Linked DNA regions of Homo sapiens: regions 1, 2, 3 and 4 are each linked to region 5. Evidence: promoter capture Hi-C in 16 types of primary human blood cells and fetal thymus (Javierre and others, 2016). All regions are on one chromosome and are shown on one strand. Each heading gives the region's core, a stretch centred on a gene start or on the middle of the fragment in contact. The rest is flanking DNA. Distances are from core to core; before and after follow the strand shown. Region 1 holds the start of MTIF2 (mitochondrial translational initiation factor 2). Region 2 holds the start of PSME4 (proteasome activator subunit 4). Region 3 has its middle 20 kb from the start of PSME4. Region 4 overlaps ACYP2 (acylphosphatase 2). Region 5 holds the start of EML6 (EMAP like 6).

Region 1 (5,050 bases), core at 2,214-4,713, 540 kb after region 5:
AGACACCCAATATTTATTGAATAATGCCTTTTGAGTATTATTCTTAGAATAAAAGAAGAGTTTTTTTGAGAAAAAACTGTAACAGAACTCATTAGTAATATAGTTCTTTTCCTCCCCGTGGCCTCTATTGCCTCTGCTCTCAAGACTGCATTTCTATGGCTTTGCTTTTCAGTTTTTAAGGACAGGAACGACAAAAACAACGTAAAAAGAACATGTTTTCCAGCTGGGTGTGGTGGCTCATGCCTGTAATCCCAGCACTTTGGGAGGCCGAGGTGGGCGGATCACCTCAGGTCAGGAGTTCGAGACTAGCCTGGCCAACGTCGTGAAACCCTGTCTCTACTAAAAATACAAAAATCAGCCGGACATGGTGGCGGGCGCCTGCAATCCCAGCTACCCAGAAGGCTGAGGCAGGAGAATCACTTGAACCCGGGAGGTCGAGGTTGCAGTGAGCCGAGATCATGCCATTGCACTCTAGCCTGGACGACAAGAACAAAACTCTGTCTTGAAAAAAAAAAAAAAAATGAAGAAGAACATGTTTTCTTCTTAGGAAACATTTCCTAAGTACCATATGCCAGGCTTTCTGCTTGATATTGTTGATTCAAAGTTTAATAAGCCAGGTTCCATTCCACAAACAGTTCATTGTCGTTAAAGCAAGCTTGCCAATACAATGAATCTCAGGCACACGAGACACTACCTATGATGACTGATTATAACCTAGGGTCGTGTTTTCATTGCAATAATATGCAAAATTATTTCTATAAATTGTAAAGTCATTTTAAGGTTTTTTTTGTTTGTCTGTTTGCTTTTCAATGGAGAGTACATTTCCAAGTAGTGGGTATAGCCTTTTAGACTCTTCAGTATAGATTTTCTTTTACTCACTACTCAAAAATAACTTTAGTTAACATTTTAATATATATATTTTCAACTCTTTTCTTTGTGCTTTTATCTATTTTACTCACAAAAATAAGGTCATATTAATTTTGTTTTACAACTTTTTACACTAAAGAATACATTGTGAATATTATTTTATATCATTAAACATTACTAATCAGCCCTTTGTATCCATGTGTTCCACATTTGTGGATTCAAACAATTGTGGATCGAAAATTTTTTTAATTTTTTAAAAAGATGGTTCTGTCTCTACTGAATATGTACACCTTTTTCCTTGTCATTATTCCCTAAAGTATACTGTTTACATAGTATTTGCTTTGTATTAGGTATCATAAGTAATCTAGAGATGACATGAAGTATACAATGGTATGTGCTTAGGTTACATGTAAATATACGCCATTTTATATAAGGAACTTGGACATCTGTAAATTTTGGCATGCGGCAGCGGGGGTCCTGGAACCAATGCCCCATAGATACTGAGAGACACATATATTCTTCAGCATTACAAAAAAAAAAGAATGGAAATTATGAACTATTTCAATGCGTTTACCTTAACCATATAAAGCTATCTTGAACAAAATTATAAACTTTTACAAAGCCTTAAAATTTTTGGCCAGGCGCAGTGGCTCATGCCTGTAATCTCAGCACTGTGGGAGGCCAAGGCAGGCAGATCATTTGAGGTCAGGAGTTCGACGCCAGCCTGACCGACATGGTGAAACCCCGTCTCTATTAAAAATACAAAAAAATTACCTGGGCGTGGTGGCACATGCCTGTAGTCCCAGCTACTTGGGAGGCTGAGGCAGGAGAATTTCTTGAACCCGGGAGACAGAGGTTGCAGTGAGCCAAGATCACGCCACTGCACTCCAGCCGGGGAGACAGAGCGAGACTCTGTCTCAAAAAAAAAAAAAATTTTTTTTTAATGATTTATCTCATAATATGGCATTTCTACAATATGCTTATATTTTATATTTATATACAACATATATATTATATAAATATATTTATATTTTCTACTAGATAGTCTTTAAAATTGTTCACAAATGATAATAGTTATTTGATGTGACCAAAGAAATTAAGGCTCTGGACGGGTGATCTTTGCTAGATAACTAGGCATTAAATGCTACATTTCATTCTTTTTTTTTTTTTTTTTTTTTTCAGATGGAGTCTCGCTCTGTTGCCCAGGGTGGAGTTCAGTGGTGTGATCTCAGCCCACTGCAACCTCTGCCTCCTGGGTTCAAGCAATTTTCTCCAGCCTTAGCCTCCCAAGTAGCTTGAACTACAGGTGTGTGCCACCGTGTCAGGCTAATTTTTGTATTTTTAGTAGACACCGGGTTTTACCATGTTGGCCAGGCTAGTCTCAAACTCCTGACCTCAGGTGATCCACCTGTCTCAGCCTCCCAAAGTGCTGGGATTACAGGCGTGAGCCACCACGCCTAGCCTAAATGTTACATTTCAACCAATCTTCCCAAAGTGTATTTTATGGTTCTGACATAGTAAATGTATGGTTCTGACATGGTAAATAGAATATACTGAATTTTTTTTTTTGAGATGGAGTTTTGCTCATCGCTCAGGCTGGAGTGCAATGGCGTGATCTTGGCTCACTACAACCTCCACCTGCTGGGTTCAGGGGATTCTCCTGCCTCAGCCTCCCAAGTCGCTGGGATTACAGGTGCCTGCCAGCACACCCGGCTAATTATTTTGTATTTTTAGTAGAGACGGGGTTTCACCGTGTTGGCCAGGCTGGTCTTGAACTCCTGACCTCAGGTGATCTATCCGCCTTGGCCTCCCAAAGTGCTGGGATTACAGGCGTGAGCCACCGCGCCTGGCCTATACTGAATATTTTTTAAAAGAAAGAAAAGAAATGATAACAGAAACAAGTACAGTATAGCAAAGAAAGTATCTTATTAGGCAACAAAGGAACCTTAGGTGGACACTCACTCTGACAGTCAGTGTTATCTGGACTCAGCAAGTCACTTGTTTCCTATGGGCCTCATTTTCCGGATCTCTGTTAAAAATAAATAAATAAATAAGTGTTTGAATATCTGTCCTTCCTATTACAAGACTAAGAGGAGAAAATGAGATGATGTATATACTTTATCATCAGCTATTTTAAAACCATATCACATGTCTTGATACTCGCTTATAAGCTTTGAGGATTCATTGCTTATAAGTTAAAAATATTCACAAGTCATTAACTTGTTTACCTTCGGACAATTATGAGGTTGTGTATGTGTGTGTAATCGAGCAAGCATTTTACCTTAAAAGGCTTATTCGAGTAAAGATCAAGGAAAAATCTAACTTAATGCCAACGAAATAAACACATTAAGATTTAGAAATTCAGGCTGGGCGTGATGGCTCATGCCTGTAATCCTAGCACTTTGGGAGGTCGAGGCGGGCGGATCACCTGAGGTCAGGAGTTCGAGACCAGCCTGGCCAACATGGTGAAACCCCCTCTCTACTAAAAGTACAAAAATTAGCCGGGTACGGTGGCGGGCGCCTGTAATCCCAGCGACTTGGGAGGCTGAGGCAGGAGAATCGCTTGAACCCAGGAGGCAGAGACTGCAGTGAGCCGAGATCAGGCCACTGCACTCCAGCCTGGGCGACAGTGAGACTCTGTCTAAAGAAAAAAAAAAGAAGATTTGGAAATTCATTCAATAGTATTTACACACATTAAATACTTCTAAGAATGGCACATGGAAAATATCTTATTTACGTTTGTGCCCCTGGACCAAGAAGTAGAGTGCTCAGGTAACACAGGATTCCTTGAGAAAATAATTTTTAAATCAGTATGAAACCAGATTTGAGAAGAGCACAGATTAATGGAGTGGGAGGAAGGACCCTACGAGATATTAACCAAAGCACAGATATGTAATTGAGGCAGGAACTGGAAAGACACATTGGAGGCAATAACCCAAATGTCAAAACTGGAAGGAAACTTGTCACTTACTCCAAGCTCCTCATTTTACAGAAAAGGAAACGGAAATCCAGAAGGGTCAAAAAAGCTTCTCCAATGTCATACCGCTAGTTAATGGCAGTCAAGACTAGAACCCAGACGTTCTGACTCCCAGTACGGTGTTGTTTCGCCGCTAGGATATCCTTGTCAAGGAATCTGAAAAAAGTATGTTGCAAATACGTAGTTGCGTTAGGGAAAACGTCTGAATGTGAGCTGGAAGCTTTGGAACTTACCAGAAAGGTAAAAATAAATCACTGCAGAAAAATTACGGATCTGGGGTGGCTCGCCTCAAATTGGAGCCCAGAAGGCCTTGGGCCCATGGGAGGCTGGGAAGTGAGGACCTGCACCCACAGCCGCGCGCGAGGAGGGGAAGCCGGCCAGCCGCTTCCGAGAGAACAGTGCACATGCCTTCGTGAATGCCTAACGTGGGCTCACGCAGGGATTAAATGCATCTTGGAAAGGCTTCCGAACGCACAATGTTTATGAAGTTCGCGTGATTTGTGCCACTGACACGTTAGGCGAAACAACACACACCACCTGCACCGGACAACCCTGGTTAAGGGATCCTACCCACTTAACTCCTACCTACAGCCCCGGGCCCCTGGATTCTGAGCACGGGCGGAGATCACCTTCTGGACCCGGAAGAATGGTCGGTAGGTCAGTCCGTCCCCGCTACGGTCCCCGCCGGGCTTCCGGTCCCGCTGGAAAAGGTTCTTTCCGGAATTCAGAGAGTTGCTGTCGCCGCTGGGGGTGGGACTGTCTGCGGTGTCCGCGGCGGGCGTCCAGCCTGGGAGGCGCTGGTTCAACCTGTGGCTCCTCCCAGGGTCAGCCGCGCGTGGTGAATCGTTTCTGCAGGTCCCTTCCATTTCTTACTTTCCTTTCCTTTCTTTCTCTCTTTCCTTTTTTTCTTTCTGTCCCTCTCCTTTCTTTCCTTCCTTCCTTTCTTCATTTCTTCCTTCCTTTCCTCTTCCTTCCTTTCCGTTTTTCTTTCTCTTTTTTTTTTTTTTAAGAAAACTGCCTTTATTCAATTAGAAGTTGGAAAAATTAACTGGTACAGAAAAAAAGTGTAATCAGCTGGAGAAAAAGTGCCACCCATGAGAACTGATGGCTCCTCTGGGAGGGAATCTGGATACAGTGAGGATTTCTAGGAAGCAAATTACTTCTTCTCTGGGGCTATGAGAGGCCTCGGTGGTGCTTAACACTGTA
Region 2 (4,582 bases), core at 433-2,932, 750 kb before region 5:
ATGTACAGTTAACCAAACAAGATACAGCAAAATTCTTTCTTAAAAAGCTCTTCGGACACAGTAAAGATGCCCATCCAGCAAGTAAATGTAACCTTTTTTCCCCCACTGTATTTTCACTCGTTTTTTTTTTTTTTTTCCTAATTTCAGTGACACTATAGTTTGAAGCTAGTTTACAAACAGAACTCCTGAAACTGATTTAGGTAATCTCTTAATCTGAGTAACTCAAAAAATTAACACAAGCCTGATACTAATATCGCCCTGGACATCCTGACAGTGCTCTTCCCTACTTTCCTCAGTATCTTAAATGTCTCTCCAAAAGAAATGTCACAACAGGAGCAACACACAATCCAAAACAACACTGTCCACATAAGACGTTAAGCTCAAGAATGAGGTCTGACTTTAAACGACCCTTTTCGATCAACTCCGCCAGGTCTGAGAGGGCCCCCAAAAAGCAAAACCCTTAAGTTTCCCTATGGTCTTCTCTCCATTCAGAAAGTTACTAGACGCCAACGGAGATGCGAAGAGGCGGGGATCGTAGGGGAAGGAAGAACCGGAGGAAGCAAGGAGACAAGTCAAGGAACTCCCCCAAAGACAAATTCTCTTTGCCCCGCCTCTCCCATGCGCAAAAGTCCACGGAGGACCCTTGAGAAAGGCTCACCTCTCTCCCTCGGGGCCGGGGCCCTTGGGCTACCCAGGGCCCCCCAGGTGGGAAGACAACAACCCGAACACTTCGGGAGAAGCAGATGCGGAGGACGTAGAGGGATGGTAAAGACCCGGGAAGTCCCGTAGGAAAGTGGCAGGGAGGACGGCTTGAGTACTTCACAGGCTCTGTCACGACCCTGGGATCACCGCTCGGGGACAGCTCCAGCGAGGACAGAGCTAAGGGTCCAGCCCTCTGGACAAAGAGCAACCATCCCCGACACCTCTCACTGAGCCTTTCCCCCCGGCCCGGCCCGCAGGCCCGGGCACACTTACGTGGAGAGTTTCCTGGTCCAGAAGAGGCCCCCGGGCCACAGCTCTTGGAGCTGCACGGCCCGGCCCAGGTTGCATTTGATCTGGGCCAGCTGCAAGTCGGACTCGGCGTCTAGCCGCTCCGCGTAGGGCAGCAGCTTGTTGTAGACGATCTCCTTCTGCGGGACGAAGCCCCGCGGGCCCGGCTCGGGACGCCCGCCCGGCTCCGGGGGCTCTCCGACTCCCGCCCGCTCGGCCGGCTCCATGAGCCCAGGGACACCCCCCCCACCCCCTCCCACCCGAACCCTCCCCGGCCCCCACCCCTCTCCGGGCTCCGCCTCCTCCGCGTCTTCGTCGCCCTGCGGCCGCTGGCGGCCCGTCGCCCTCGGACCGATCGCTAGGCCCCCTTCCCTGGCCGGCGTGCTGCTGGGCCCCACGCGGCTCTCAGTTCGTTGGCGGCGGCAGCGGCCGCTCTGCCCGCCCCGCACCGGCTCTGCTGGTGACGCTGCAGCCGCCGGGCCCAGAGGTTCCGGACCGGCCTCAAGTCACTTCCGGGGCGGGGCGGGGCGGAGCGACGGCGTCGGGGGAGGCGGTGGTGGCGGCAGCTGGAGCCCAACGGGCTGCGCCTTCTTCGCCGTGGGCCCGGCTCGGAGCCCCCACCCCAGGCCTCACCGGCCCAGCGCGAGGCTGCCTCACCGGAAACACGAGGCCGAATTCCAAGCTATTGTCCTGCTTCGCCGGGGGTCGCGCACTCCAAGCGGCAGCCCACTGGAGTCCCAGTCGCCACGACAGGCGGCAGCCAGGTCGGCCTGGTCCCCCTAGCCGAGCAGCCCCGGCTTCTGGGTTAGAGGGGTTTATGGAAAAGCCTACGTACCCACTTGCTCCTTATAGATTTATTTACTCCATCCCGCTTGTTCCTTATAGATTTAATTTTTCTGTCCCCTTTAAGTCCCCATCTTTCTGGTATTCTGGCCGCCATCATTCCAAAGAAGAAAATAGTTACTCGCTGAACAAATGCTATTTGAACAGCTGTTTTGTGTGTAAGGCGCTCAGTTTAGGCTATTGAGATAGAAAGTTTAACCTGGTTTCCGCCCTCCCAAGGACTTAGTCTAGCAGAGATAAAGACGTGAATTACAAGATAATGCTCTTAATTGCTAGATAAGTACAAGAATCCTTAGGAACTCTACAAAGAAGTTGAAACTAGGGGGTTTGAGAGGGTGTCATTTTCCTAGAAGTGATACTTAATTTAAGCTATGAAGGTTGAGTGCAAAGTTGGTTAGAAAAAGGAGGGAGGAGGACACGTATTTCAGCTGAGAGAACAGCTTTGACGCTGCAAGCATGTATTCTAAAAATTCAAAGTTCAAAATAGCGTAAGAGAGGGGACGGAGAAATGAGACTGAGAAGGCAATCCTAAGGAATTCAGAGCTTTATCCTAGAGACAAACTTCCAAAAGATTTTAAGCATAGCAGTGGGATGATATAATTTACATTTTTTAAGAATTACTCTGGCGGCCGGGCGCAGTGGCTCACGCCTGTAATCCCAGCACTTTGGGAGGCCGAGGCGGGCGGATCACGAGGTCAGGAGTTCGAGACCAGTCTGGCCAACATGGTGAAACCCCGTCTCTACTAAAAATACAAAAAAGTTAGCCGGGCGTGGTGGCGGACGCCTGTAATCCCAGCTACTCGGGAGGCTGAGGCAGGAGAATCGCTTGAAACCGGAAGGCGGAGGTTGCAGTGAGCCAAGATCGCGCCAGGGCACTCCAGCCTGGGCAACAAGAGCGAAACTCCGTCTCAAAAAATAAAAGGGCCAGGCGCGTGGTGGCTCACGCCTGTAATCCCAGCACTTTGGGAGGCCGAGGCGGGTGGATCACGGGGTCAGGAGATGGAGACCATCCTGGCTAACATGGTGAAACCCCGTCTCTACTAAAAATACAAAAAAATTAGCCGGGCATGGTGGCGGGCGCCTGTAGTCCCAGCTACTCGGGAGGCTGAGGCAGGAGAATGGCGTGAATCCGGGAGATGGAGCTTGCAGTGAGCCGAGATCGTGCCACAGCACTCCAGCCTGGGTGGCAGAGCGAGACTCCGTCTCAAAAAAAAAAAAGAGTCACTCTGGCTTCGTCTGGAAAATGGGTTGGAACTGACAAGATTGGGAACTGGAGGACCCTTTAAGGTGTGACATAATCATGGCCTGGATGTCAGTTGAAATTGAGAGCTACTTCAGCAGAATGGCTTGGGCTTAGTAGTTGACTGAAAGTGAAAAATTAAAAAGGAAAGAGACAAGACGACGCTGGGTAGATAGGTGAAGTCCTTCACTGAGATAAAGAACACAGCAGAAACAGCTTGGGAGGCAGAATGCCTATGGGATGGGTATGTTGACATATGTATCAGGAGGGTGATCTAAACTGAGATGCAGATTAGCGTGTAGATGGACGACAGGAGGGAAGGAAATATACAGTATGAAAAAATAGGGCCCTTCACAAATCTCTGAGGAGCCCCACATTTAAGGACAGACAGAGAAAAGGAAGGTAGGCCACAAAGAATATTCACAAAAAGCAGAGAGAGGAGGAGTTCTAGGAAACTGGGTGTCTCATGGAGAAGCGAACAATCCTACCTTAGGTAGCTAACAGGTCAAATGAAGTGAAACCTGAAAGGGTTTATTGGATAGTTTATTGATAAAGCGCATAAGAACAGTGTCGTTGGAGTGTAGAATAGAAATCTGATTATGGTGACAAAGGACAAATGGGAAGTGAATAAATAGAGGCAGCAAATATGGACAACCTTTTAAAAAATAATGGGGTAGGGAGAGCCGGAAAGAGATGAGTGTCAGGCCTCTGAGCCCAAGCTAAGCCATCATATCCCCAGTGACCTGCATGTATACATCCAGATGGCCTGAAGCAACTGAAGATCCACAAAAAAAGTGAAAATAGCCTTAACTGATAACATTTCACCATTGTGATTTGTTTCTGCCCCACCCTAACAGATGAATGTACTTTGTAATCTCCCCCACCCTTAGGAAGTTTCTTTATAATCTCCCCAACCCTTAAGAAGGTTCTTTGTATTTCTCCCCACCCTTGAGAATGTACTTTGTGAGATCCACCCCCTGCCCCCAAAACATTGCACTTAACTCCACCACCTATTCCAAAACCTATAAGAACTAATGGTAATCCCAACACCCTTTGCTGACTCCTTTTTCAGACTCAGCCTGCCTGCACCCAGGTGAAATAAACAGCCATGTTGCTCACACAAAGCCTGTTTGGTGGTCTCTTCCCACGGACGCGCGAGACAATGAGGAGGTACTTGGAATAAAAGGAGGGATTTTTGAATGTGGGATATATATATGTGTGTGTGTGTGTGTGTGTGTGTGTGTGTGTGTGTGTGTGTGTGTATATATTTTTTTTTTTTTTTTTTTTTTTGAGTCTCACTCTGTAGCCCAGTCTGGAGTGCAATGGATCCATCTCGGCTCACTGCAATCTCCGCCTCCGGGGTTCAAGTGATTCTTCTGCCTCAGCGCCTCGAGTAGCTGGGACCACAGGTGCGCACCACCACATCCAGATAATTTTTTTTTTTTCGGTATTTTTAGTAGAGACAGGCTTTCACCATATTGGCCAGGCTGGTCTCGAACTCCTGACCTC
Region 3 (4,887 bases), core at 1,513-4,012, 730 kb before region 5:
CTGGAGTGCAGTGGCACGATCTCAGCTTATTGCAACCTCCACCTCCCAGGTTCAAGTGATCCTCTTGCCTCAGCCTCCCGAGAAGCTGGGACCACAGGCATGTGCCACCATGCCTGGCTATATATATGTATATGTATATAAATATATATGTGTGTATTTTGTAGAGACAGGGTTTTGCCATGTTGCCCAGGCTGGCATTGAGCTCCTGGGCTCAAGCAATCTGCCTGTCTCAGCCTCCCATGGTGCTGGGATTACAGGTGTAAGCCACCATGCCTGGCCCATAATTCAATTTTTGTTTTGTTTTGTTTTGTTTTTTTGAGACAGAGTCTCACTCTGTCACCTGGGCTGGAGTGCAGTGGCATGATCTTGGGTCACTGCAACCTCTGCCTCCCGGGTTCATGCGATTTTCCCTGCCTTAGGCTCCTTAGCAGCTGGGATTACAGGTGCGCGCTACCATGCCCACCTATTTTTATTGCATTTTTAGTAGAGACGGGTTTTTGCCATGTTGGCCAGGCTGGTCTTCAACTCCTGACCTCAGGTGAACTTCTGCCTCGGCCTCCCAAAGTGCTGGGATTACAGGCGTGAGCCACCACGCCCGGCCTGTAATTCAGTTTTAAATAACACCATCTGAAGGCCACCAAGAGTCCAGTCCCAGTAGGAATATTCCAAACCCAGTCATTTCTTCTCATCGTTACTCTAACATGCAGTGGAAAGGCTATCAGGCCAGCATGTGCCTGCTGGCACCATCGACTATTGTGATCTACTGTGAGCCAATACTTAAATAAGAAGACATATCTTTCAATAACAAAAAGTCAGATTGGTAGACAATTCTTTTTTTTTTTTTTTTTTTTTTTCACAGACAAGGATTCCCAGGCTCAAGCAATCTTCCTGCCTCGGCCTTCCAAAGTGCTAGGATTATAGGCATGAGCCACCATGCCCTGCCTGACAAATCTTGAGTCAGATATTAGTAAAACAAAGAATATATTTGCCCAGTTCTTTTAGGGCATAGTCCTGCTAAAATGCACCTAATGTGTGTATTTAGGGTACTTATCATAATGGACATCTGTAATTGCTTTTGGCTGCCCAGCATCTGAACCCACTTGCTAGATTCGGGACATCTCCCATTATCTAGGTCTTGGTGGGAAGTAGGCTCTGACCTCTAACTTTAGAAGCCTAAGGGATGAGATTCACCCTCTACTAACTCCCCTGACAGCCTTGTGACCCAGATTTAGCCACTATGTACTTTGTGTCTTGAGTAAGCAATGCCAAGATGAAGGGATGATAAGTGATATTGGATCTGTGGTAGCTCTAGTATTAGCAGTTTGGCATTGAGGCTGTGTTTATTGTGAGTAGTGGCTGCCTACAGTGGCCATTATGTCAAATACTAGAGATGTCCTATGTTGGTGGTGGCAGCAGCATCTCCACCAGACTGTTCCTGCCACTCCTACTCCCTTGGTCCCAGCCAATTGTTTGAGAATGTTTTCATCATTTCTCATCACTTCTGTGAGTTACATAAACCCTTTTCTTTTCTTTTCTTTTTTTTTTTTTTTTGAGATGGAGTCTTGCTCTGTTGCCCAGGCTGAGTGCAATGGTGTGATCTCGGCTCACTGCAACCTCTACCTCCTGGGTTCAAGCAATTCTCCTGCCTCAGCCTCCGGAGTAGCTGGGTCTACAGGCATGCACCACTACACCTGGCTAATTTTTGTATTTTTAGTAGAGGCAAGGTTTCACCATGTTGGTCAGGCTGGTTTTGAACTCCTGACCTCAAGTGACTTACCCGCCTCGGCCTCTCAAAGTGTTGTGATTACAGGCATGAGCCACCACTCCTGGCATATAACACTTTTCAGTAAATTCATCTTCTATTTAATTTAGCCAGAGTTCACTTCTAACAAGCAAGATAGTTGATATATCAAGAATCCTAGCTGGGAGCTGTGGCTCATGCCTGTAATCCCACCACCTTGGGAGGCTGAGGCAGGTGGATCACCTGAGGTCAGGAATTTGAGACCAGCCTGGCCAACATGGTGAAACCCCAAATATACTAAATATACAAAAATTAGCTGGGCGTGGTGGCGGCCACCTGTAATCCCAGCTACTTGGGAGGCTGAGGCAGGAGAATCTGTTGAACCCGGGAGGTGCAGTTTGCAGCGAGCCGAGATGGCACCATTGCACTCCAGCCTGGGAGACAAGAGCAAAACTCCGTCTTACCAAAAAAAAAAAAAAAGAAAAAAAAAGAAAAAGAATCCTCACTTTCAGCAAATTAGCATAAAGCAGTGGTTGAGAGAGCTTCTACTGTCAGAGTTTCTGATTCAGTAGGTCTGCAGATGACCTAAGAATTTGCGTTTTTTTTTTGTTTTGTTTTTTGTTTTTTAAGGCAGAGTCTCGCTCTGTCGCCCAGGCTGGAGTGCGGTGGCGCGATCTCGGCTCACTGCCAGCTCCGCTTCCTGGGTTCACGCCATTCTCCTGCCTCAGCCTCCCGAGTAGCTGTGATTACAGGTGCCCGCCACCACGCCCGGCTAATTTTTTATATTTTCAGTAGAGACGGGGTTTCACTGTGTTAGCCAGGATAGTCTAGATCTCCTGACCTTGTGATCCGCCCGCCTGGGACTCCCAAAGTGCTGGGATTACAGGCGTGAGCCACCGTGCCCTGTCGAGAATTTGTGTTTCTAACAAGCTTCCAGGTGATGCTGCTGGTCAAGTGTTCAAAGGTATGCTGCTGGTCATCATCAGATGTTGTGATTTTATAATTTTCTCTCAAATGTTGCTGAGTAGCATTCTATGAACATACCATAGTTTGCTTATCCATTCATCTGTTAATGGACGTTTTGGTTGTTCCCAGTTTCTGGGTATTACAAATAAAGCTTCAATAAATATTCATGTATAAGTCATTGTATGGACATATAACTACTTTTCTCTTGGATACATACCTAGGCATAGAATGGCTGGTGTATGTGTAACTTTTTTTTCTTTTTTTTTTTTTGAGATGGAATTTCACTCTTTCGCCCAGGTTGGAGTGCAGTGGTGCGATCTTGGCTCACTGCAACCTCTGCCTCCTAGGTTCAAGTGATTCTCCTGCTTCAGCCTCCTGAGTAGCTGGGATTACAGGCATGCGCCACCACACCTGGATAATTTTGTATTTTTAGTAGAGACAGGGTTTCTCCATGTTGGTCAGGTTGGTGTCGAACTCCCGACCTCAGGTGATCCACCTGCCTCAGTCTCCCAAAGTGTTGGGGTTACAGGTGTGAGCCACTGTGCCTGGCCGTATTTCATCTCATATATTGATTTTACCTCATTCACCCTGCTCCAGGCACTCCGACCTTCTCTCAATTTTTTTTAAGTTTTTTATATTTATTTATTTTTATTTAGCGATGAGGGCTAAGTATGTTGTACAAGATGGAGTGTAGTGGCTATTCACAAGTGCGCTCATAGGGTACTGCAGACTCGAGCTCTTGGCCTAAAGCAATCCTCCTGCCAAGCCTCCCAAGTAGCTAAGACTACAGGCACATGACACCACACCCAGCTTCTTTCAATTTCTTGATCAAGCCAAGCTTTTTCACAATGTAAGAGCTCTTGCCCCTCTTTCCCTCCTTCCTTCCTCCCTCCTTCCCTCCCTCTTTCCTTCCTTTTTTCCCCTTCCTTCCTTCCTTCCTTCCTCCTTCCCTCCCTCCCTCTCTCCCTTTCTTCCTTCTTTCTTCCTTCCTTTCTTTCTTTCCTTCCTTCCTACTTTTTTTCTTCCTTCCTTCTTTCTCCTTCCTTCCTTCCTTTCTTCTTTCTCCTTCCTTCCTTCCTTCTTTTCACCAGTGTCATAGTAAGCACTTACTTTTAATTTTAACCTAGTGAGTGAACCAAGCACTTAAATTTACTCTAAGTGCAATGGAAACCTATAGACAAGTTTTTAATCAGGAAAATGATATAAATTGATTTAAACTTTCAAAAGATCTCTCCTGACTCTGAATGGACTATAGATTATAAGGGGATAAGAATGAAAGTACTGTGACTAATTAGGAGGCGTTTTCAGCAATTCAATGAGAGATGACAATGGCTTGTATCACGGTAGAAGTAGTGCCAACGGTGAGAAGTACTCAGAGATGAGAAATATTTTGGAGGTCGGGTGCGGTGGCTCACGCCTGTAATCCCAGCACTTTGGGAGGCTAAGGTGGGCAGATCACCTGAGGTCAGGAGTTTGAGAACAGCCTGGCCAACATGGTGAAACCCCGTCTCTACTAAAAATACAAAAATTAGCTGGGCATGGTGGTGTGCACCTGTAGTCCGAGCTACTTGGGAGGCTGTGGCAGGATAATCACTTCAAACCAGGAGGCTGAGGTTGCAGCGAGCTGAGACCACACCACTGTACTCCAGCCTAGGCGACATAGTGAAACTCCATCTCAAAAAAAAAAAAAAAAAGTTTTCCAGTGACGGGAAGCAAAAGAAGGAGAAGTAACTTAAAGAGAATACGCATCAGAAAAAAGGTTTTATGGCCAGCCATGGTGGCTCACTCACACCTGTAATCCCAGCACTTTGGGAGGTCAAGGCAGACGGATCACTTGAATCCAGGAGTTCGAGACCAGCCTGACCAACATGGTGAAACCCTGTTTCTACCCAAAATACAAAAATTAGCCAGGTGTGGTGGCACATGCTTATAGTCCCAGATACTTGGCAGGCTGAGGCACGAGAATCGCTTGAACCCAGGAGGCAGAGGTTGCGGTGAGCCGAGATGGCACCACTGCACTTCAGCATGGGCGACAGAGGTTGACAAGAAAAGGTTTTTGCTTTGTTTCGCTTTCTCAGATGAGAGATGCTAGCCCATCTTTGGGATCAGAAATCAGAAGTTATTAGAAAGAGAGAGATGATGGTGTGGAGAAGGAAGGATTAGATCCAAAGGGCAGGAGT
Region 4 (4,501 bases), core at 1,516-4,015, 560 kb before region 5:
CCACGCCTTGCTGATTGCTCCCCACTCTTTCATTCCCCACTTGCTGTGTTGTAGCCCCTCACTGTGTGCTCTGCTTCCTGACATCATTTAGCACGGCTGCTGTGAAAGGATGACTTGCTGGATATTCCCCACCTCCCCCTCAAGAGAATGCTTTCAGCTGTAAGTAACAGAAAACTGATAAACAAGTGGCTCGACAAATGGTGGTTTATTCTCAAATATATAGGGGACTGGAGGTCAGTAGCCACTGGTGCTTGTTGAGCTGTCATCAGTGTCAGGATCGTGTCTGTAGGATTCTCTTGTCCTTTCCCTCATGGTTATAAGATGGCTGTCCCAGCTTCAAGTGCACCCACACTCAAGGCTGGGGGAAGGGATGGCTCTGGGTCTTTTCCTTTTTATCTGGAAAGCAAACTCTTTCCCAGAAGCTGGCAGCACACTTCTATGTGTGTGCTATTGTCCATCCCTGGCAGTAATCAGCTTTTTCAGCCACTCATAAGGATGAAAGGGAGAGGGGGGAGAGGTATTAAGACTAGTGTTGTGTTTGCCATTCAACAATGCCATCTACACTTCTCAAGACTGTAAGCTCCTTAAAGGCAGGGATTGTCTGTCCTTTTCTTCTTTGAATTCCCAGTGCCTTGCACAGTACCTGGCACATAGAGTGAATGGTGACAAGCATGTCAGAAAGAGAAGGTGGAATAAGGACCTTTCAGGAGAAGAGAATGTCAGATACGAAGGCATTGAGCTGAAAGAGCCTTCATTGTGTTTTTGGGAACATGTGACTGGAACATAGGCAGATGACAGACTACTGGAAACTGAAAAGCTCTGCATATCATGTGAATTTGTCCTTCTGTCAGCAATGGGGAGTCGTTGAAAAGTTTCAGGCCAGGGAGTGACACAATAGTATTTGTGGGTTAGATTACTGTGTTGAAAATATGGGCTAAGAACTGGAAGAAGGGAGATTGGAATCAAGGAGATTAATTAACCATATCATACTGTGGTTTCATCAAAGAGAGTAAGAATAATTTGGAAGATTGGAAAATATAATTTTAAAATAACCTAGAACAATGATCTCAAAGTAGGACCTTGGATCAGTAGCATCAGCATTACCTGGCACCTTGTTAGAAACGTAAATTCTTGGGGTCCACATTGAGCCTACTGAATCCGGAGCCCAGGGTAAGTTCCAGCAGTGTGAGTTCATAAGCCCTCCAGGTGACTGTGATCCACATGAAAGCTTCAGAGCCACTAAACTAGAGCAATGGATGCTTAAGGGTGAAAGACAGCTTGGAGATCACCCAATCTGATACAGCCAATCTGCATATCAGAATCACCTGGGGAGCTTTTACATGGCAACTAAATTGCCCACACCTCCTACTCCACACAGCAGAACAACTAAATCATGATCTTGGGGGCTGGGACCCGTGCATCAAATTATTTCCAATGATCTCAAGTGTTTCCAATGAGCAGCCAGGTCTGAGTACCATTGGTCTTATCTAACCCCTATTGATGGGAAAACTCAGGATTCAAAGAGGAGTTACTCAAGGGCGTATAGCAAGCTCAGGTAAGAACTGGGTCCTTGAATCAATTTCATAAGCTGTCATCTCCATGAATGCCTTAAACACTATCCCAACTTTTTAATTTTTAAATTATATTAAAAACTTTTGTGGCTACATAGTAGGTATACATGTTCTATCCTAACTTTTTAATGATTTGCCTGAAGATAATCATTCACGGTGACAAATACAACTGCCAAATTTTTAGAAGAAAAATAGGTTACAGACATTATGAAAAAGTCAGTTCTCTTTTACATGAACAGTATTACACACTTTAAAAAGTTATCCTTTTTGTAAATATTTTGTAAGAATACGTATTTTTAACAATAATGAAAAGAATATAGATACAATAGGGTAGAGAGTGCTTTGTTATTTGTGTGTATAAGTAATAACCCTTTTTTCAAACTCTAGATGGAGCTCTTTGGTTTTTATATATTCTTTTATTTATAATTTGGTAAGTCTTTGTTTTAAAAGAAGCAGCTATTTTGGGATTTTTTTAAAAACATTAAAAATTTTATAATAAGTATTCTCAACATTTCTCAGCTCTCCTTTTCTTGTTGTTTCACAACCATATAGATTCTTACTTTTTTTTGTTATTGTTCAATTGCTGGACCAAATCCAAATTCAGGCCTCAGAGAGTCATTTCTCAAATGCATCTTAAAGTTGTATTTTATCTCACAGTATTTAACGAATGGGATAAGTTTCCCATGTTTATTGTTTGTAATAGGTCTCAAAGTTGTAATAGAATTTGTGTAAGATGGACCTCCCTTTATGAATAATGCCAGGAGAGAAAGTCTCTGAGGATATTATAGCTGTTGCTATAGTAATTCCTTCAGCTATTTTTACCCCACTGTGTACAAAGGAGTGTTAACAGCTACCTTCTTGTAACATAAATGAAACATTTTGCTGCTGCTTCTTTTTCTTTTCCGTTTTACTAGCTCAGTATTCTCTCTTCTATTGGAAGTGCACTTGGAGCAAAATTCCCAAAATATGAGGCCTGTTGTTTTTAATGGTATAAGCCTGTGGTGTGGTTCCTAGGCCAGCAGCAGCACCATGGATATCACCTGGAAGTTTGTTAGAAATGCAGATTCTCGGCTCCCACCCTAGACGTACTGAATCAGAAACCCTGGGGATGGGGCCCAACAATCTGTTTTGAAAGGCTGTTTTGAAAGGATAAAAATCCTGTACTCACCGGAACCTACATAAAAAAATTTCCTCCTGTACAGGCCAGGCATGGTGGCTCACCCCCATAATCCCAGCACTTTTGGAGGCCAGAGGGGGAAGATTGTTTGAGCCCAGGAGTTGGAGACCAGCCTGGGCAACATAGGGAGATGCCCATCTCAACAACAACAAAAACAACAACAACAAAAAATCAGAAAGTTAGCCGGGCGTTGTGATGCACACCTGTGGTCCCAGCTGCTTAGGAGACTAAGGTGGGAGGATTGCTTGAGCCTGAGAAGTCAAGGCTGCGGTGAATCGTGATCACCGCACCCCAGTCTGGAGCCAGAGTGAGACCCTGTCTCAGAAAAGAAAAAGAAAAATTACTCTGTACAGTCACTTTTGCTCGTTTTGGATTTGTCCAGTGCTTTTCAAATCACCCAGGGCTTTTGTTAAAAGGAATAATTTTCATTCAGTAAGTTTGAGGTGGAGCCTGATATTCTGCCTCTAACAAACTCCCAAACAGTATGGATTTTGCTTGTCCCCGGATCACATTTTGAGTGGTGAGGCCAAATAGCACATAGTAAGGCCATAACCATGCCTGCATGTGAGTTATCTGTGATTTATGTGTATATGCTTTTGATTTAGTATACCTAAAGTCAGTTTTTCCTTTTCAATCACAGTGGGAAGAGACAATTTATAGAATGTAATGCTTTCTTGTCTAATTGTAAGTGACTCAATCATATTAAATGCTACAAGAGGGTATTGTTTGCCAGGATCTGTCTCTGAGACCCTCTGTTATAATCAGCAGTGGACACCCTTGAAAATTACATTATTTAAAAAACTGAGACTCATTCATAGCATTATGAAGTCAGAGAGAAAGTCCTGAAGTTTGAAGAAGTTTTCAGACAAAATAATTTCAGACAAAAAGAAGTGGTTCATAAATGTTTGTTATCGGCTGGGGGCGGTGGCTCACGCCCGTAATCCCAGCACTTTGGGAGGCCTAGGGGGGTGGCTCACCCAAGGGCAGGAGTTTGAGACCAGCCTGGCCAATGTGGTGAAACCCCGCCACTACTAAAAATACAAAAAATTAGCCAGGTGTGTTGGTGGATGCCTGTAATGTCAGCTACTAGGGAGGCTGAGGCAGGAGAATCGCTTGAACCCAGGAGACAGAGGTCGCAGTGGGCCGAGATTGCACCATTGCACTCCAGCCTGGCCACCAAGAGCAAAACTCTGTCTCAAAAAAAAAAAGTTATCATTCACTTATTATTTACTGAGCATCTGCCGTGGGGAGCATTGTGCTAGGCACTTTAGGAAATTTTTTTAAAAAGGATAAAGTCCTTGACCTTGAGGAGATAACAGTCTAGCTGAGGCAATAAAACTTATGCCTGTGAAAGTTAATTACCAAAATAGGGAGTATTCTGTCAAATGGTAAAGAAGCGTGGTAGAATTTCGGAAGACCAAAGGATAGCTAATGGCTGGTAAGGCTGAAAGAGGGATCTGATTAGGGCTTTGGAGCATGTATAGAACTTAGACATTCAGAGGAGAGGGAAGGTGGGGGAATGCTCCATGGAAGAGAGATGGCATGGGTCAGGGTGAAGCTTCTAGGAGTGAATCATGGATGCACACAGGAACTGGGGAGAAGTTCAGATGACATGAATCTTAACTTCTTGTCTAGGAGCCAGATAGGTGAGGATTTAACTGCCAGGCTTTTGAGTTTTGACTTAGTCCCTTGTGCACCAAGGAATCATTGAAGAATGCTTTCAGCTGGGGGCAGGGTGACCCAATCATAATGA
Region 5 (4,596 bases), core at 135-2,634:
CAGGAGGCGGAGGTTGCAGTGAGCCAAGATCACGATATTCTAGCCTGGGCAACGGCCTGTTTTGTCTCAAAACAAAACAAAACAAAAAGAACAACAAAAACTTACTGTCTTTATATAATTCATTTGGCACTGTTTTATGGCACGACATCATTGATCAACTATATTTTTGCTTCTATCTCAAACCTTTCTCAGGCCGTGTTTTTGTTTTTGGCAGTGTTCTTGTTGCCTAGCACAGTGCCATCTCACTTATTTGTTGATTCTGTTTCCTTAAAAACAAAGATGAGACCAATTCAAATCCTCATTACTGCGGGCAGCAACAAATCATCCAAACTCTGGCACTTCCAGTTCTTTCGAGCTTTCCTACCAGGTCGGAGGGTTGTCTTAAAACTTGAGGGAGATGAACTGAGTAAGCGATTACACTGAAAGCATGGGAGGGAAAGGACGTTCCAAACGTCCAATCCATCATCCTTTTGCAGCCTCTTAGTCACTGGGATTTTGAAATCTCTTTCCAAAGACTAGCTATGGCCCTAAATTGGAAATAGGCTACTTGAGAACACAGTGGATTCATAGTTCATCTCGGGCAGTTTTAGGAGAAATGCCACCAGCTTCTGCGTTTGAAGGCCAAGGTTAGCTGTTCATGGCGTGAGCACCTTCCTGCTTCCAACCTCCGGTTATCTGTAAATACCCAAGTCCTCTAATTTAGGACGCAGGTCATGGGAAGACGCTGGTTCTTAGGGCAGAAGTGAGCTCACATTCCCAGCATTTTTCTTAAACTTGGCAGAACTGCACTTTAACAAATTAAAATCCATGTGAATGAAAAGGAAAACTTAAGTAGGAAACAAACTTAAGCTTGAGTCAGTTACAGCATGGTGAGGATGTCGGTTACAGCAACACTCAGAGACCGATGAAGGAGAAATTCCAGTGGTGGGCTGGGAGACCGTCTCCATTCCAACTCCACCGCTTTTCTCTACAGAGACCCACGCACGCCAGCTCCCGCCTCAGTCACAAGGGAACGCCCGCGTGGGCAGGCAATCGTCCTTGGTGAGCCGGGATCTCCTCACCCCGAGAGCCGCAGGCTCCGCTGACGCCGGTACAGGTCTCGCTGCGACTCCCTCTGGGCGCGCGGAATCCTGGGACTTGTGGTCCCTTCCGCGCGCTGTCCGCCCTAACCGGCGCAGAGAGGACTACACTTCCCAGGATGCGTCGGGGGAAGAGGCCACAGGGACAGGCAGAGGGAGGGGGCGGCCCCAGTCCTCCGGGGCGTCGCTGTTTCCAAGCGGCGAGATCTCGCCTAGTAACCGGCAGCTGAGGTTCACTAGCGCGGCGTTGTGGCCCCGCCCCCGGAGCCCCGGCTGGAGGAAGAACCTGTCTCCCGCGGCGCCCCAGTGACGAAGTCCATCCCCGGGTGCGGGAGGCGGGGAGGGGAGGGCAGGCAGAGGATTTCGCTCGCTCGCCCGCGCGGGATCCGGGACGCGCCGGTGGCGTCCGCTGGCAGCAGAGGTTAGAGGCAGAGAGCGCGCGGATGCTCCGCGGGCGAGGCTGGTTCGAGAGTGGGAGGAGTGCAGGGCGCCGCCAGGGCGGCAGTGCGCGCGGGCCGAACAGTCCTGAGGGCGGGCATCCCTCGCGCAGCGCGCCGACCCCCGGGACGTGTGCGTCTGTGGGGGGTTGCTGTCCCCCGGGTCCCTCGGGCGACCCCTCTCCACGCTGGGCTCAGGGCAGGACCCGGGATTCCGTGGGACCCGGTGTTTAGCGCAGAGGTTTCTGGGGAGAAGTACACGATTTTTGCCACTTGTTATTTGATTTCTCCTCGACCAGGAGCGTTTGTAGGTAGCGCACTCCCTCCGACTGCACTAGTGCCTCGTTTCTTCCGAGTAAGACAATCTTTCATGATGCGGATTGGAGTTGCTGATCAATGAGAGCTGCTAAGTTCTTTATGGCTTTCTCGGTGAAGAGAAGGTTCACGGAGGATATGATTATTAAACACACACATGAAAACTAATTGGAGCATCTAAAAAATGACCATTGCATATTCGCCCTCGCTTATTAGGGAAACAGCAAGCGTTCCTTCAAATCGCATCAGCAACTGCCAGGCAGCAGCATTTACGCATATTTCATATCATTAAGGAGATGGAACTGGAGAGAGAAAGCGGGAGTAGGGGACAATTTTTAAAAATACCCAACTTGGTTTAGTTTGGGGATAATTTTCTTGGATTGGGTGACTTATGCGAAAAATCTGTTTCTTTCTTCCTCGCTCTCGCTTCCTGGATATAGACTGTCAATTTCGGATCCAAAGACGGCGATGGCAGAGCTCACCCGGGTTGCCTGTCAAATCAAGGCTATCGCAGAATAAATCCCGCCGCCTGCCGCGAAGCCCCGGCGCACCGCAAACTTCAGTGAGCGAACTGGGTGATCGCTGTTGGGATATGCAGATTCCTGATGTAAAAGGCGGGGTGGCCCCCCCGAGAGCCTCTCCCGGGGGCCGGAGCCCGCAGGTGCAGTGAGGCGCGCGCGCCGGTGCCGGCGCCCCCAGAGCCGCCTTGCCCGGGTAGAGGGAGCCCGGCGCCCGGCGGGGTCTGGCGGCCGCACACCGGCGGCGGCGGCTTGTCTGCGGCGGCTGCAGCGGATGATGGTGGCGGCCGGCCCGCTGGGCTGTGCCTGTGTGTCGCCGCGGAAATCAGCGCCCTGCGCCGCGCGCTGAGCCCCTGCAGGTCCGCCGCAGCCCCAGCCTCGGCGAGGACGGCCCCGGCGCGCGGGGGGGCGGGGGGCGCGCGGGGTCGGCTTATCATGGCGGATCGGACGGCGCCCCGCTGCCAGCTCCGGCTGGAGTGGGTGTACGGGTACCGGGGTCACCAGTGCCGCAACAACCTGTACTACACGGCAGGCAAGGAGGTGGTCTACTTTGTGGCTGGGGTCGGGGTGGTTTACAACACCCGCGAGCACAGCCAAAAATTCTTCCTGGGACACAACGACGACATTATCAGGTAAGGGGGTGGCCAGGGGCGGCGGGGAGGGGTTGCGTGTGGAGGCTGGGAAGGTGGGAAGCGGTTGACCTGGGGTCGGATCCGGGAGCCCCGTGGAATAGAGGATTCTCTCTGGAGCCGCATGGAATTACTGAAGGGCTGCTGATTCTAGGGCCAGGGCAGAAACAGTGTGGGGAGTGTAGGTGAGGAGGGAGAGATGTCTTTTCGCTGTATCCCTCCGGAATTCTGGCTTTTAAATCTCCAAGGAGTTGAGTGTTCTGATGCTTTCTTGCTGTTCTTTCCTGCTACAAGTGGAAGGAGCCTGGGTAACTATGAAACACTTCTTCCTTCCCTAACCAGGTGCACGGTAGGACCAATAACCTGAAGTGTGGGCATCATCTTTGGGAGGCTCCTCAGTGGGTTTCTCAGTAAGCAAGAGGATTAAAAAAGATCTAAAAGAAATTTTACTACTGGTAATTTGGAATCTTCATCTCAGATGCTTTGGACCTGGGAAATTTCTGCAGTGGGTGGGGAGTTTGTTCTCTAATATTTCACTTGGCAGTGTTTTAATGCCCAAAGCATATTTATACACTAAATGGATGCTTCCACAGCATCATTGAGGTTATTAAAGGCTGGCAGCTGCTGGATCACAAAATCCTACCAGCCAGCCCACACAATGACCAACATCTGCTAGCGGATGGCCCAAGACTGACTGACAGGAGAGCTCATTTGGATGAATGGCCGTTTTAGGGGCCCTCCCGATTAAATGGAAAGGGGTTATATTGTGATTCTTGGCCCTATCCTCTCATCTTTGGACCAGACACATTTTCCTCCAGCCCTTGTCAGCTTTTATGTGAGCAAACAAGGTATGGGCCAGATGCTGTTCACAGGGAATCCTTTTCAGCCTTCAGCAGTTAAGGAAGATTTTCGTCATATGGGAGCCTCAGCCCACAGGGAAAATGACTTGCTGAGGATGGACTACAACTGACAGAGACCATATTTATACCTTCCAAACTTGTGTGTTTCATTGATGTAGAACAACTACCATTACATTCTCAGAATATTGCCACTTTTGCTCTAAGTTTGTCTTTCACAATGAAATAAATGAAGTGATGTCATGTCCATGCTCCTAATTTCTCAGTGCAGAGAATGATTTCAAAGATCAGCTTTTTTTTCCCTTCCTAATGATGTGCTTATATTCCAGAGCCTTTTTTTTTTCTGAGACCTAAAGTTGAAAAATTGTTACAGAAGGCAAGCACTTAATATTCAAACTACAGATTTTAAAAAATCTTGACTTTTTTTGAAGATGGGAGTGCTAATGTTCTCAAGATTTAGTGGAACTAGCATGTAAAACTTTTTTCATGTCACGTATGACACAAATAGCTTTTTTTCTTCCCTCCCTAACATGGTAGTTGTTGTGCTTGGGGCATCCTTACATAGTTTTGTTCTGCAGATTTTGCTTCTCTAATTGCTAGGCTGATTATGAAAGTTACAGGTGCAAATGATTAACAATGACTCATGAAAAGGTTAGATGTTTAAAAATTTAAACCCATTATGTTTTTGCTCTCTCTGTCTTAATGCAGTGCTTTCCATTACAGCATCAAAATAAGATGTAGTCCTTTGGGTGAAGGGAGAG

What was found. Contacts are between HindIII fragments. The CHiCAGO score rates a contact against its expected background, and 5 or more counts as called.
Region 1: a contact is called between a fragment that was not itself captured here and the fragment with the promoter of EML6 in region 5, in 1 of 17 cell types (fetal thymus). The highest score is 5.4, in fetal thymus.
Region 2: a fragment that was not itself captured here is called in contact with the fragment with the promoter of EML6 in region 5 in 1 of 17 cell types (fetal thymus); the score reaches 5.6 in fetal thymus.
Region 3: a contact is called between a fragment that was not itself captured here and the fragment with the promoter of EML6 in region 5, in 1 of 17 cell types (naive CD8 T cells). The highest score is 5.8, in naive CD8 T cells.
Region 4: a fragment that was not itself captured here is called in contact with the fragment with the promoter of EML6 in region 5 in 1 of 17 cell types (endothelial precursors); the score reaches 5.3 in endothelial precursors.

What each region holds. Positions count from the first base shown.
Region 1 is chr2:55,264,740-55,269,789 of GRCh38, forward strand. MTIF2 (mitochondrial translational initiation factor 2) reads right to left here and starts at 4,492. Exons shown (of 16, transcript NM_002453.3): 1 at 4,430-4,492; 2 at 3,839-4,000; 3 at 2,830-2,896. RefSeq lists enhancers at 4,435-4,584, 4,530-5,050. The HindIII fragment of the contact is 855 bases long and covers 3,037-3,891 here.
Region 2 is chr2:53,969,568-53,974,149 of GRCh38, forward strand. It overlaps PSME4 (proteasome activator subunit 4), which reads right to left and starts at 1,426. Exons shown (of 47, transcript NM_014614.3): 1 at 976-1,426. The coding sequence starts at 1,217. It also overlaps a transcript of ACYP2 not described here. RefSeq lists enhancers at 274-1,038, 1,305-1,599, 1,895-1,944 and silencers at 1,095-1,294, 1,269-1,430, 1,305-1,694. The HindIII fragment of the contact is 6,659 bases long and covers 1-4,582 here.
Region 3 is chr2:53,988,447-53,993,333 of GRCh38, forward strand. It overlaps a transcript of ACYP2 not described here. Among named protein-coding and RNA genes, the nearest start is that of PSME4, 20 kb to the left of the region's middle. The HindIII fragment of the contact is 187 bases long and covers 2,670-2,856 here.
Region 4 is chr2:54,159,912-54,164,412 of GRCh38, forward strand. All of the region lies in intron 3 of ACYP2 (acylphosphatase 2), which reads left to right. Among named protein-coding and RNA genes, the nearest start is that of ACYP2, 47 kb to the left of the region's middle. The HindIII fragment of the contact is 3,078 bases long and covers 1,227-4,304 here.
Region 5 is chr2:54,722,278-54,726,873 of GRCh38, forward strand. It overlaps EML6 (EMAP like 6), which reads left to right and starts at 1,385. Exons shown (of 42, transcript NM_001039753.4): 1 at 1,385-1,500; 2 at 2,272-2,981. The coding sequence starts at 2,785. RefSeq lists an enhancer at 918-1,137 and silencers at 1,278-1,767, 2,439-2,588. The HindIII fragment of the contact is 5,681 bases long and covers 848-4,596 here.